Linked DNA regions of Homo sapiens: region 2 is linked to region 1. The links are contacts of gene promoters, found by promoter capture Hi-C in blood cells and fetal thymus (Javierre and others, 2016). All regions are on one chromosome and are shown on one strand. Each heading gives the region's core, a stretch centred on a gene start or on the middle of the fragment in contact. The rest is flanking DNA. Distances are from core to core; before and after follow the strand shown.

Region 1 (5,092 bases), core at 985-3,484:
GTGCTAGCCAGGATGGTTTCCATCTCCTGACCTCGTGATCCGCCTGCCTCAGCCTCCCAAAGTGCTGTGATTACAGGCATGAGCCACCGCACCCGGCCACGAATGGGATTTTCATATGATTCAACTTAATGCATCTAAAGACTAAGATTACACATACAAAATCCAGATTTCTGATTTCTCTTTACAACTAGTAAGATATATCAACAATAAGTCCAGATGTCTACATGGCAGCTGTCAGCTGGAGCCTAGAGGCAGATGCTGCACCTTTTAGATGGCATATTTCCTTTTCTATTTGCTATTCTATTTCTATTTGATAGTCCACACCATCCTACTGTGCCTTATAGGCTGGCAGCTTCACTCGTTTATATTACCCCGGCTGGCCCCTGTGAACCATTAGAATTGGAAACCTCTGATTTTTCTACAGACACCCTGAAGAGGCTTGATGCTTATTCCATTTTCAAGTTGTCTGTTCAACTGCAAGGTTTTTTAATTCTGCCCAAATCATAAATTATGTTCGTGTTTTCTATGTAATATATTGATAAAAAGGCTGACAGAAGAAATGTAAACAAGGCACCTTTTAGATGTTAACTAAGATATATTAACCACAACATATAGTTGTGATACATGTACTTGCGGTGATCAAATAAAAAATACTTGGCCGGGCACGGTGGCTCATGCCTGTAATCTCAGCGCTTTGGGAGGCCGAGCTGGGCGGATCACTTGAGGTCAGGAGTTGGAGATCAGCCTGGCCAACATAATGAAACCTCATCTCTACTAAAAATATAAAAATTAGCCGGGTGTGGTGGCACACGCCTGTAATCCCATCTACTTTGGATGCTGAGGCAGGAGAATCGCTTGAACCCGGGAGGCAGAGGTTGCAGCCAACCAAGATCGGGCCATTGTACTCCAGCCTGGGGGACAAGAGCGAGACTTTGTCTAAAAAAAAAAAAAAAACTAAAAAATAAAAAATACTTAACGTTTATTTACTCCTCAAAGGTAAATTATAATACTCATCTCAGATGACTATGGAGTCAAGAGCTCCATGTATCTATACCTCTCTGGCCCCAGGTAAATCATTAAAACTCTTAGTTTCCGCTCTCCCTTATGTACAATAAAACAGTACTGCATAGGTAGAAAGGCTGGGGGGAAGTAAATGAAGCCCAGTGAAATGAGAATGTCTATTAACACCGTTCCCTCTCCCCCCGCCCCCAATTTCTTCAGCTCCATTAAGGAAGGAAGTGCTATATGAAAAAGTCATTCCTTAGTATCTGTGTTCAGACACTCTGTAGACAAAATTCTCAACGGAGGGGTGGGGCATCAGAATCAACCAGGTGAGCCTATACTCACGCCCTTAAAAAGGGTGTTAATACTGGACTCAGAACTTTAAAGAAAAACGCACTGATCTCATTCATTGAAGTTATTTTTTGTATGCAGAATAAAATTGTGTGAATAAAATGCAAGCAGCACCGTCTGTAAGTAGACCAGAACTGGGGGAAAGAAACTGTAAGGCCCGAGTACGCATTATGGTACAAAACGTTCTCACCAGCCCCAATTCCTCTCCATCTAGGAGGGTTGGATGCGCGCGATTTTATCGGGGCACGGCGACAAAGGAGCTGAAACGCGGGCACTCGCTGGAGCGCAAACCCTCCCGACTCCCGGCGGGGAGCGACCTGAGCTCGGGAGAGGGGCGCCCCGTGTCCCACGGCCCGCCGGCTGCGGTGCTGAACCGCGGAAAGCGACGCGGGCCCGGGACACGATGTGCGCGGCGCCGGGGCTGAAAGCTGGCCGGGAGGGCGGAGGCGCGAGTTCCGCCCTGGGCCGCGGAGTAGTCCGAGGGCTCACACCTCCCCAAGTGGCGCAGCCTGGGCCCGCGGGGAGGCTCCGCGCAGCTCCCCCGAGCCTCCGCCGGGCCTCGGCCGTGCTCCGCGGCGCGGCTGTTACCCCGCCCCTCCTCCGCGCCCCCAACCTGCAGCCGCGGCCGTTCACCTGGTGGCGTCCGCGACGTTCCTGATGAACAGGGAGGTGTTGGGGGGCCTCGTGTAGCGAGACATGACCGCTTCCTCCGTTCCCTCCGGGTCTGCCCGCGGCCGCTGGACTCGCTCCGTCTCCCGCTACCGCTGCTACCACCACAGGAGCTCCGCCGGCCCCCGGCGCGACCCCCACCCCTCGGCCTCAGCCCCGCCAGCGCGCAGCCGCAGAGGCCGGCGCAGAGGGGGCGCAGCGCGGCGCCAGCCTGGACGCACGGGCCGGGGGCGGGGGCGGCGCCGGCGCGGCCCAGGGGCCGCGGGAATTCCGAAGACAGGAGCGCGGCCGTTCCCAGGCCCTATGGGATCCGGGTATGGGGGGTCCTGGAGTGCGACGGGATTTGGGGAGGGGGCGGCGAGGGCCAGTGTATGTCAGGAGGGCGGAGGCCAAGAGGGGGCTTGAGGCCGCGGCGGGGACGCCGGGGGTTAGAGGACCCAGAGGTGGTGGCGGGGCTGCGGCTGGGCGGAGGTGGGGTCAGTGAGAGCCGCTTTCAACCGCGCCCCCGCTCAGCCTCCGCGGCCCTCAGCGCATCGTCCTGAGCGCAGGACCTTGGCAGTTGGTAGGCCTCCTGCCCCTCTGGTCTTGAGCCTTCGGCTTTCCAACTGTGAGGTCTCGGTTTTGTTCGGATTTGTTTTTTTAATAGAGACGGGGTCTCGCTGTGTTGCCCAGGTGGTCTCAAACTCCTGGGCTCAAGCCTCTCCCGCCTCGGCCTTCCAAAGTGCTGGGATTACAGGTGTGAGCCACCGCGCCTGGCCTGTTGGATTTTTAAGTATTATATGATTCTTCATCCTTTATTCACTTGGGGCATAACACTCAGCTGTGAGTACATTCATTCAGATGTTTATTGAGCGTCTACTATGCGCCAGGCACTTAGCGTGGGATATAGCAATGAACAAACAGGCCAAGCCCCGCCCTCTGAGCTTACATTCTAGAGGGGGGACAAACGAATGTACAAATGAATACATGATGTAGAAGACAACAGTTTAAATGCAGGGACAGTTAAGCAAAATTTAAATTACCCTCTCCCTATTCCCCCAAAATGTTGTAGCCCATCCCCTTCTAGTTAGACTCGTCTTCGCCTTGCTCCTGTGGCCGGCAGGCACAGCCTGTTATTCAGGGCTGGGAGTGTAACCAGGCAACTCCTAAGTGTGAAGAGTGCCCCTTTTCGCTCGCAGAAGTGGTAGGCTTTGAAGAATACATGTCGTGGTCACCCTTCTAGCTCACAGCCCTCCCAGAGGCTGTGGAGGTTCCTGGGTCTGCAGCTGTACTGGAACGGTGGCTATTCTTTCATTCAGAAGGGATTGCTCTGGCACTGCAGGCACAGGGCTAGACTGGCACCGTGCCTATTCCCCTAGAGCTTAGAATTTGGTAGGGAGGCAGAATCTAACAATCACACTGGTAAAGATACAAACTATAATACAGGGCTATGAAAAGAACTATATGCTGCTGAGAGCAGGCATTGTGGGATGGTGAGCAAGGCTAGAGGGTCACTTATGTTCCCTGAACAAGTCTTGAAGAGATGGGTAAAGAATGGAGAAGAGTAATTAGTGCAGTGGAACAGCACGTGCAAAGGCTTTGAGGCAATATAGTAAATGAGGCAAAACAGGAGCATGAGGCTGGAGAAGAGTTGGAAAATGAGGCTGGAGAGCAGGCTGGATTCATAATACAAAAGCTTAGAATGCTTACCATGTGTTAGTTGGCTAGGGCTGCCATGACAAAGCACCACAGATTTGGTGGCCCGAAACAACAGAAATTTATTCTCTTGTAGTTCAGAGGCCAGAAGTCTGAAATCCAGGTGTCCGCAGGGCCATCATCTATCTGAAGGCACTCTAGGGGAATCCTCTGTTTCTTCCAGTCTTTGGTGGCCCCACACATGTTTTGGCTGTGGATACATAGATCCAGTCTCCACTTCTGTCTTCACATGGCCTCCTGTCTTTCTCTCTCTCTTTCTCTGTCTCTCTCTCTTTTTATTTTAGATGGAGTCTATGTTGCCTAGGCTGATTTCAAACTCTTAGGCTCAAGTGATCCTCCTGCCTTGGCCTCCCAAAGTTGAGATTACAGGTGTGAGCCACTGTATTAGTCCGTTTTCACACTGCTGATAAAGACATACCCAAGACTGGGGAGGCCTCACAATCATGGTGTAGGGCAAAAGGCACATCTTACATGGTGGCAGACAGAGAATGAGAGCCAAGCGAAAGGGGTTTCCCCTTATAAAACCATCAGATCTCGTGAGACTTATTCACTACCAGGAGAACAGTATGGGGAACTGCCCCCATGATTCAGTTATCTCCCTCTAGGTCCCTCCCACAATACGTGGGAATTATGGGAGCTAACAATTCAAGATGAAATTTGGGTGGGGACAGAGCCAAATGATATCAGCCATCTATCCTATCCAGTTCTATCTCTTATAAGGACATTTGTCGTTGGATTTAGGGCCCACTTGGTTAATTCAGAATGATCTCATCTTGAAATCCTCACTTACATCTGCAAAGATTCTTTTTCCAGATAAGGATACATACCTGGAGATAGGACTTGGACATGTATTTTTGGGGGCCGCCATTCAAACCACTACATTGACTTTGCAAATAAAAAACTTGACCAAAGAAAAGAAACTTGACCTGGTGGGTAGTCACAATTACTCATCCCTGACATACTGTTAAGTGGAGAAAAATCAATTCATGAGACATGTAAACGATTAACCTATTTAGTTAAAAATATATTGGCCAGGCGTGGTGACTCATGCCTGTATCCTGGTGCTGTGGGAGGCCAAGTTGGGAAGATTGCTCCAAGCTAGAAGTTCGTGACCAGCTGGGCAACATAAGAGAATCTCCCCATCTCTACAGAAAATTAAAAAAAAAAAAATTAGCCAACCATGGTGGCACATGCTTGTAGTCCTAGCTGCTCAGGTGGCTGAGGCAAGAGGATTGCTTGAGCCCAGGAGTTGGAGGCTGCAGTGAACTATGTTTGTGCCAGTGCACTGCATTCCAGCATGAGTGACAGAGCAAGACCCTGTCTGTAAATAAATAAATAAATTTATCTGTATGTTCATGTATAAATAGAATTTTTC
Region 2 (5,410 bases), core at 465-2,964, 530 kb after region 1:
CAAATGTTGACAGGTGTGAATAACTTGCTTCCATCAAAATCTGAAGCTTCTGCATGATACACTGAGAACAGTGAGAGATTTTTGGAAAAGAACTAAATAATTGGCATGTTTCAAGCCCCCAAAGTAAATGTGGTTGGATTAGCTGGTTTTTATATTATGTCCTTCTCTACTTTCCTCTGTTATTAAAATATTAGAGAATACAGTACTTGCAGGGGGCTGGTTTCAGGACACACACCCCCTCACCCCCAGTATACCAGAATACACACATATTCAAGTCCAGAGATGGCCCTGGAGAACCCGCATACATGAAAAGTTGGCCCTCCATATACTCGGGTTTTGCATCCCTCAAATGCTGAATTTTCAATCCACTTTTGGTTGGAAAAACTCCATGTGTAAGTAGACCTGATCTGTACAGACAAACCTGTGGTATTCAAGGGTTAATTGTAGCCTTTATATTTAATTCCACACACACCTTGCTCCTTTCTCTTATAAATCTGAACTCAAGTAAGTATATACTAGTTAGTGTCTAGATCCCCCATTGATTATAAGCCTCATGAGTACAGGTTCAACAAAAATTTCTGAATGAATGAATAAATAAGTAAAAATCAGCTCCATCAATTTATGTCTTTTCCTGTGGAGCATACCTATTAAAACACAGTGACGGGGACACTGAGCTGAAGCAAGCAGCTTGGGAATATAGAGTACAAGAAAGCATTTTGTTAATGAAGAGGAAGGCATGCAGCTCACCTGAACTGATGTTCTGCGAGAGCTGCTGAGCAGCTGCAAACATGTTGGCAACAGACTCTAGAAACTAAACCGGAACCAGGAATAGACAATTAGAAAACTATGTGAATGCTCTTCTCATTGTCAAAGAGACTGATAGTATTTCTGACATTGAAGTGATTATCAGATAACCACCTCAGGTTTACAGACCATCAACTAACTGTCCCTTCTGGCCGTATGTAGTTAAAAAAGGAGGATCCTTGGATACAGACATTCTGTTTTTTAATTATTATTTTTTGAGAGAGGGTCTCACTGTGTCACCCAGGCTGGAGTGTAGTGGCACGATCTCATCTCACTGCAGCCTCGATTCCTGGGCTCTGCCTCAGCCTGCCGCCAAGTAACTAGCACTACAGGTATGTGCCACCACACCTGGATAATTATTTTTGTCTTTTGTAGAAATGAGGTCTCACTATGTTGACAAGGCTGGTTTTGAACACCTGGCCTCAAGCGGTCCTCACACCTCAACCTCCCAAAGTGCTGGGATTACAAGTGTGAGCCACCATGCCTAGATGATACAGGCATTCTCAAGCACAGGTGAGACGTTTCTCTAACATATAACCCACTAGAGTTCTGGAAGATACCCCAAAGGAAAAGAAGTGCTTCCCTGGGGCATAAGAAATCAATACTCCCTCAAATAAACCAAACAGCTGTCTTCTTTCAAGAACAGAAAACAACTGAGCAAAAGAGAAGGCAAGAAAATACAAAATGTCCAGGGCAGCCTAGAAAAAGCAAACTGAATCAGAGCAGGACCCAGGAGAAATATGATCCCATGCTGTTTTGAACTTTTGTTCTCTTAAGTAAGTCACTGGCTTTACTTCATATCATTTCTTCTCTAAGCTTAATGAGGGAGAAAAATAGGTCTTGGCCCAGCTGATAAGGGTATGGGAGATGGGTTTGTTTTTGCAGAATGTTCCAAACTACTCGGAAAAAAAAGTAGGGAGCTAGAAAACCAATGATGCAAAGTCAAGTGATCCTTGAGGAACTGAGAAAAAGAAGTCACACCTTGTTTTATAATGGATGCTAAGGAAGCTTCTATTCCAGTGGTACACAGGCTGAGGTTTGGGACTATCCCTGTCCTAATACTGTATGCGGTGGAGGGTGGTTCTCAGCCCAGCATGGTGGTAATCCCAACACTTCGGGAGGCCAAGAAGGGAGGATCACTTGAACCCAGGAATTTTAGACCAGCCTGGGCAACAAAGTGAGACCCTGTCCCTACAAAAAATAAAAATTAGCCAGACATGGTAGCATGCGCCTGTAGTCCTAGCTACTAGGGAGGCTGAGGCAGGAGGACTGCTTGAGCCCGGGAGTTCGAAGCTATAGTGAGCTATGATGGCGCCATTGTACTCTAGCCTGGGTGACAGAACAAGGTCCTGTCTCAAAAATAAAAATGTTCTCCCTCCAACCTACACCAGTTTAAAAATAACTGTGCAGAAGACATTTTATTTCATCCTCTTACCTGAGCAATCTTGGTTTTCTTTTGTTGGAATTTGCAGAGACGTAGAATCTGGGACCCAGAGTAATCACTGAACTGCTCATGAAATGGGTGTAACAGCTTTACAGATTCTCCAAAACTTGGGGGAGGAAAACCAAATACAACAGGAGTTATTTTTTGGCTGTGTGATCAAAATAACCAAACAGGTTGTGAAAAGTTTTCATAAAGGAATTACAAAGCAACCTTACCTACACACTGCAATCTGACCCACTTCCAGGAGGGTTAGAGCATTTCCAATCACAGCCAAAGATTCAAATGCAAGCTGTGAATTAGAAAGTTAATGATTTTAGGAATCAGAATATCCTCTAAACCAGAGCCTCTCAACTATTTTTTGCATCAAGATTCCCAAAGAAAACATTTTTTTGTTTGGCAAGTAGAGGAATAACATCAGTAAGGCTACTATAGTCACAACAAACCCAAAGGCTTTGGTGGCCTGGTACCACAAATGTTGAAACCTAGAATCCATTACACTGATAGGAATGGTCTGCTGTAGACATCGAATAAAAAGTGACCTTGAGGGCCAGGCGTGGTAGCTCACACCTGTAATCCCAGCACTTTGGGAGGCCAAGGAGGGAGGATCACTTGAGTCCAGGAATTCAAGAGTAGCCCAGGCAACACAGCAAGACCCCACATCTGTGGTCCCAGCTACTTGGGAGGCTGAGGTAGGAGGATCACCTGAGCCCAGGAAAGTTGAGGCTACAGTGAGCCACCTGGGCAACAGAGTGAAACCCTGTAACCCTGTCTTCAAAAAAAAAAAAAAAAACAATTTAGCCGGGCATGGTGACACACACCTATGGTCCCAGCTACTCAGGAGGCTGAAGTGGGAGGACTGTACTGCTTAAGCCCAGAAGGTTGAGGCCACAGTGAGCTATGATCATGCCACTGCACTCCAGCCTAAGCAACAGAGCAAGACCCTGTCTTTAAAAAAAAAAAAAAAAAGAAAGAAAGTGACCTTGAGAAATATGGTCCATGAATTTTTCTTTCTTCTTTTTTGGACCTACATGAAGAGTAACCTCTTGTAGGTAAAAAATTTTAAAAACCAATTTAAAATCCATTCATATATATGTAGTCAGATCAGACTGTAGAACTATATCAGAAAATTTCATTACCATTTGCAATATGACAAAAGCAGCAGCAAACTGAGTGTTCTACATCTATTATTTCATTTAATCTTCATAACAATTCTGCAAGTATGAGGTTATTACTATTCTATGTGTGCTTGTAAATATATATATTCCTCACTTTTCAGAAGGTGAAACTGATAACTAAGAAATAAGTTGCCCAAAGTCATGTGTTAATAAATGGAGCTGGGATATGAACCCAGGTTCAGAGGCTACACTAACTTTTTCCAGCAGAACATACAAATTTTAGGTTGCTTATTAGCCCATGCTGTATAACAGCATCACTGCCCAAAACAAACACTCTTTGGCATCTGTAATGGTGGTATAAGTAATTCTATTAAGGCTCCTAAACTTAATATTAGCACTGATAGAACAATAACTCTGGATAATTTCAGATATAAAAGAAATGTATCCTAGATACCTACCTAAACTATCTAAGACTATGCAGTAATATCTGAAAACTTTGATTTTTTTTTTAAGAGTACACTGTTGCATTTTCTGCAAAACAAGCACTATCAGATTTACTTATTCTGCAACTAGACAGTTAAGAACAAACAGCAAGGTCAAGAAACAAAACAATGTAAAAGACCTACAACAGTAAGAAACTAACACATCTGAGACATCCTAAAATTGCCCTTTTGAACTCTTTAAATCTTAGGTCTTATCAAAGATGGTTATCACATTCTCAAAACAGGCCTAACAGGTATTTCAAAATGTTTTAGCCATATCATATTTAAAGCATTAGCCATATCATATTTAAAGCATTTTGGTGGCCCATGGAACATAGCTTGATGTTAATTTCCTATCAAACTGCCACTGCATTTCTCTTCCTTACCTGCTTGGTATGATTGTCTACCATACTAGAAGAGTCATCGATAGCCAAACAAATCTGATACTGGCGTTTACTGGGCTTGGTCCTTCGAAGCCAAATCTTGTCTTTCCGAAATTGACTAGCAATGTATGGAATGACTTTCCGTATGTTTAGTCGTTTCCCAGTTCGATAGTCTCCTCTATTTATTCAAATGGGGGCAAAAATTAGTTAACAACTTTTAATTCCTGAGAATTTTTATTAAGGACAAAAATCACAATAATACCTTAAAACCAATAGCAAGTAACTAGGAACCTGGCACAATGAAGTGTTTCTGTCAATTGACGACTAAGGATCTTCTTGACCTCTAGCCAGAAAAACTGGACACGTATGTGGCAATAATAATTAGGTCCTTCCAGACACATTTTTAAAAATTAGGAAAAAATGCACTAAATAGGAATGATTTTGGACATCTTTGAAAAGATCTAGGTGAGTAACACCTATAGCAAGTGAATAGCTCAACATGTAACAAGGTGATCAATACAGACACCCAGAAACTTTTGTGCAGAGACAATAATAGGAAAACAGGGTAAGGAACAGCATACTGGTGCCTGTACGGCACAAGCGGCAGCCTAGAAGCTGGCACTATAAATGGTTAGGTGCCGCGTTCAACAGAATCAATGAAGCTGCCGTCTTCTCAGGGCACTGTGAGGCCTTCCAGAGGGGAAGACTTACTTCAGCTTGGCTGCCTGGGTAGGCTCTAATATGAGACGAAGCTCTTCACATAACCGTTGTGAAAGAGGCGCTGTTAAGATCAGGTAACTCTGCCACATCTCAGCTGCAACCTTCTCCTGTGACAACAACAAAATGTAAGTTACCCTCAGAATGTCAGAGCCAACCAAGTCTTCTAGCAAGATGCAGGCTTTAAGCAAAGTGGTAGAAAATGACCTGCATGAACTTTCTCAACAGAAGCACTTTAAATCTTCTCCCAGCAAGCTACCATGTAATTTACTTGATTAAAAATGTCTCTCCTTCCAGCTGAGGGTGGTGGCTAATGCCTGGTAATCCCAGCACTTTGGGAGGCCGAGGCGGGTGGATCACTTGAGACCAGGAGTTCGAGACCAGCCTGGCCGACATGGTGAAACCCTGTCTCTACAAAAAAAAAAAAAATACAGAAAATTAGCTGGGCATGGGGGCAGGCACCTG

Evidence for each region. The method cuts DNA at HindIII sites, captures the fragments that hold promoters and counts their contacts. A CHiCAGO score of 5 or more calls a contact.
Region 2: a fragment that was not itself captured here is called in contact with the fragment with the promoter of SRSF12 in region 1 in 2 of 17 cell types (total B cells and naive CD8 T cells); the score reaches 5.9 in total B cells.

What each region holds. Positions count from the first base shown.
Region 1 is chr6:89,115,837-89,120,928 of GRCh38, forward strand. It overlaps SRSF12 (serine and arginine rich splicing factor 12), which reads right to left and starts at 2,235. Exons shown (of 5, transcript NM_080743.5): 1 at 1,987-2,235. The coding sequence starts at 2,051. It also overlaps a transcript of PM20D2 not described here. RefSeq lists a silencer at 1,819-2,088. The HindIII fragment of the contact is 10,924 bases long and covers 1-3,695 here.
Region 2 is chr6:89,645,793-89,651,202 of GRCh38, forward strand. MDN1 (midasin AAA ATPase 1) reads right to left here. Exons shown (of 102, transcript NM_014611.3): 96 at 4,940-5,055; 97 at 4,232-4,406; 98 at 2,464-2,537; 99 at 2,240-2,354; 100 at 748-811. The region is part of intron 1 of MDN1-AS1 (MDN1 antisense RNA 1); the gene reads left to right. Among named protein-coding and RNA genes, the nearest start is that of LYRM2, 9.8 kb to the left of the region's middle. The HindIII fragment of the contact is 192 bases long and covers 1,619-1,810 here.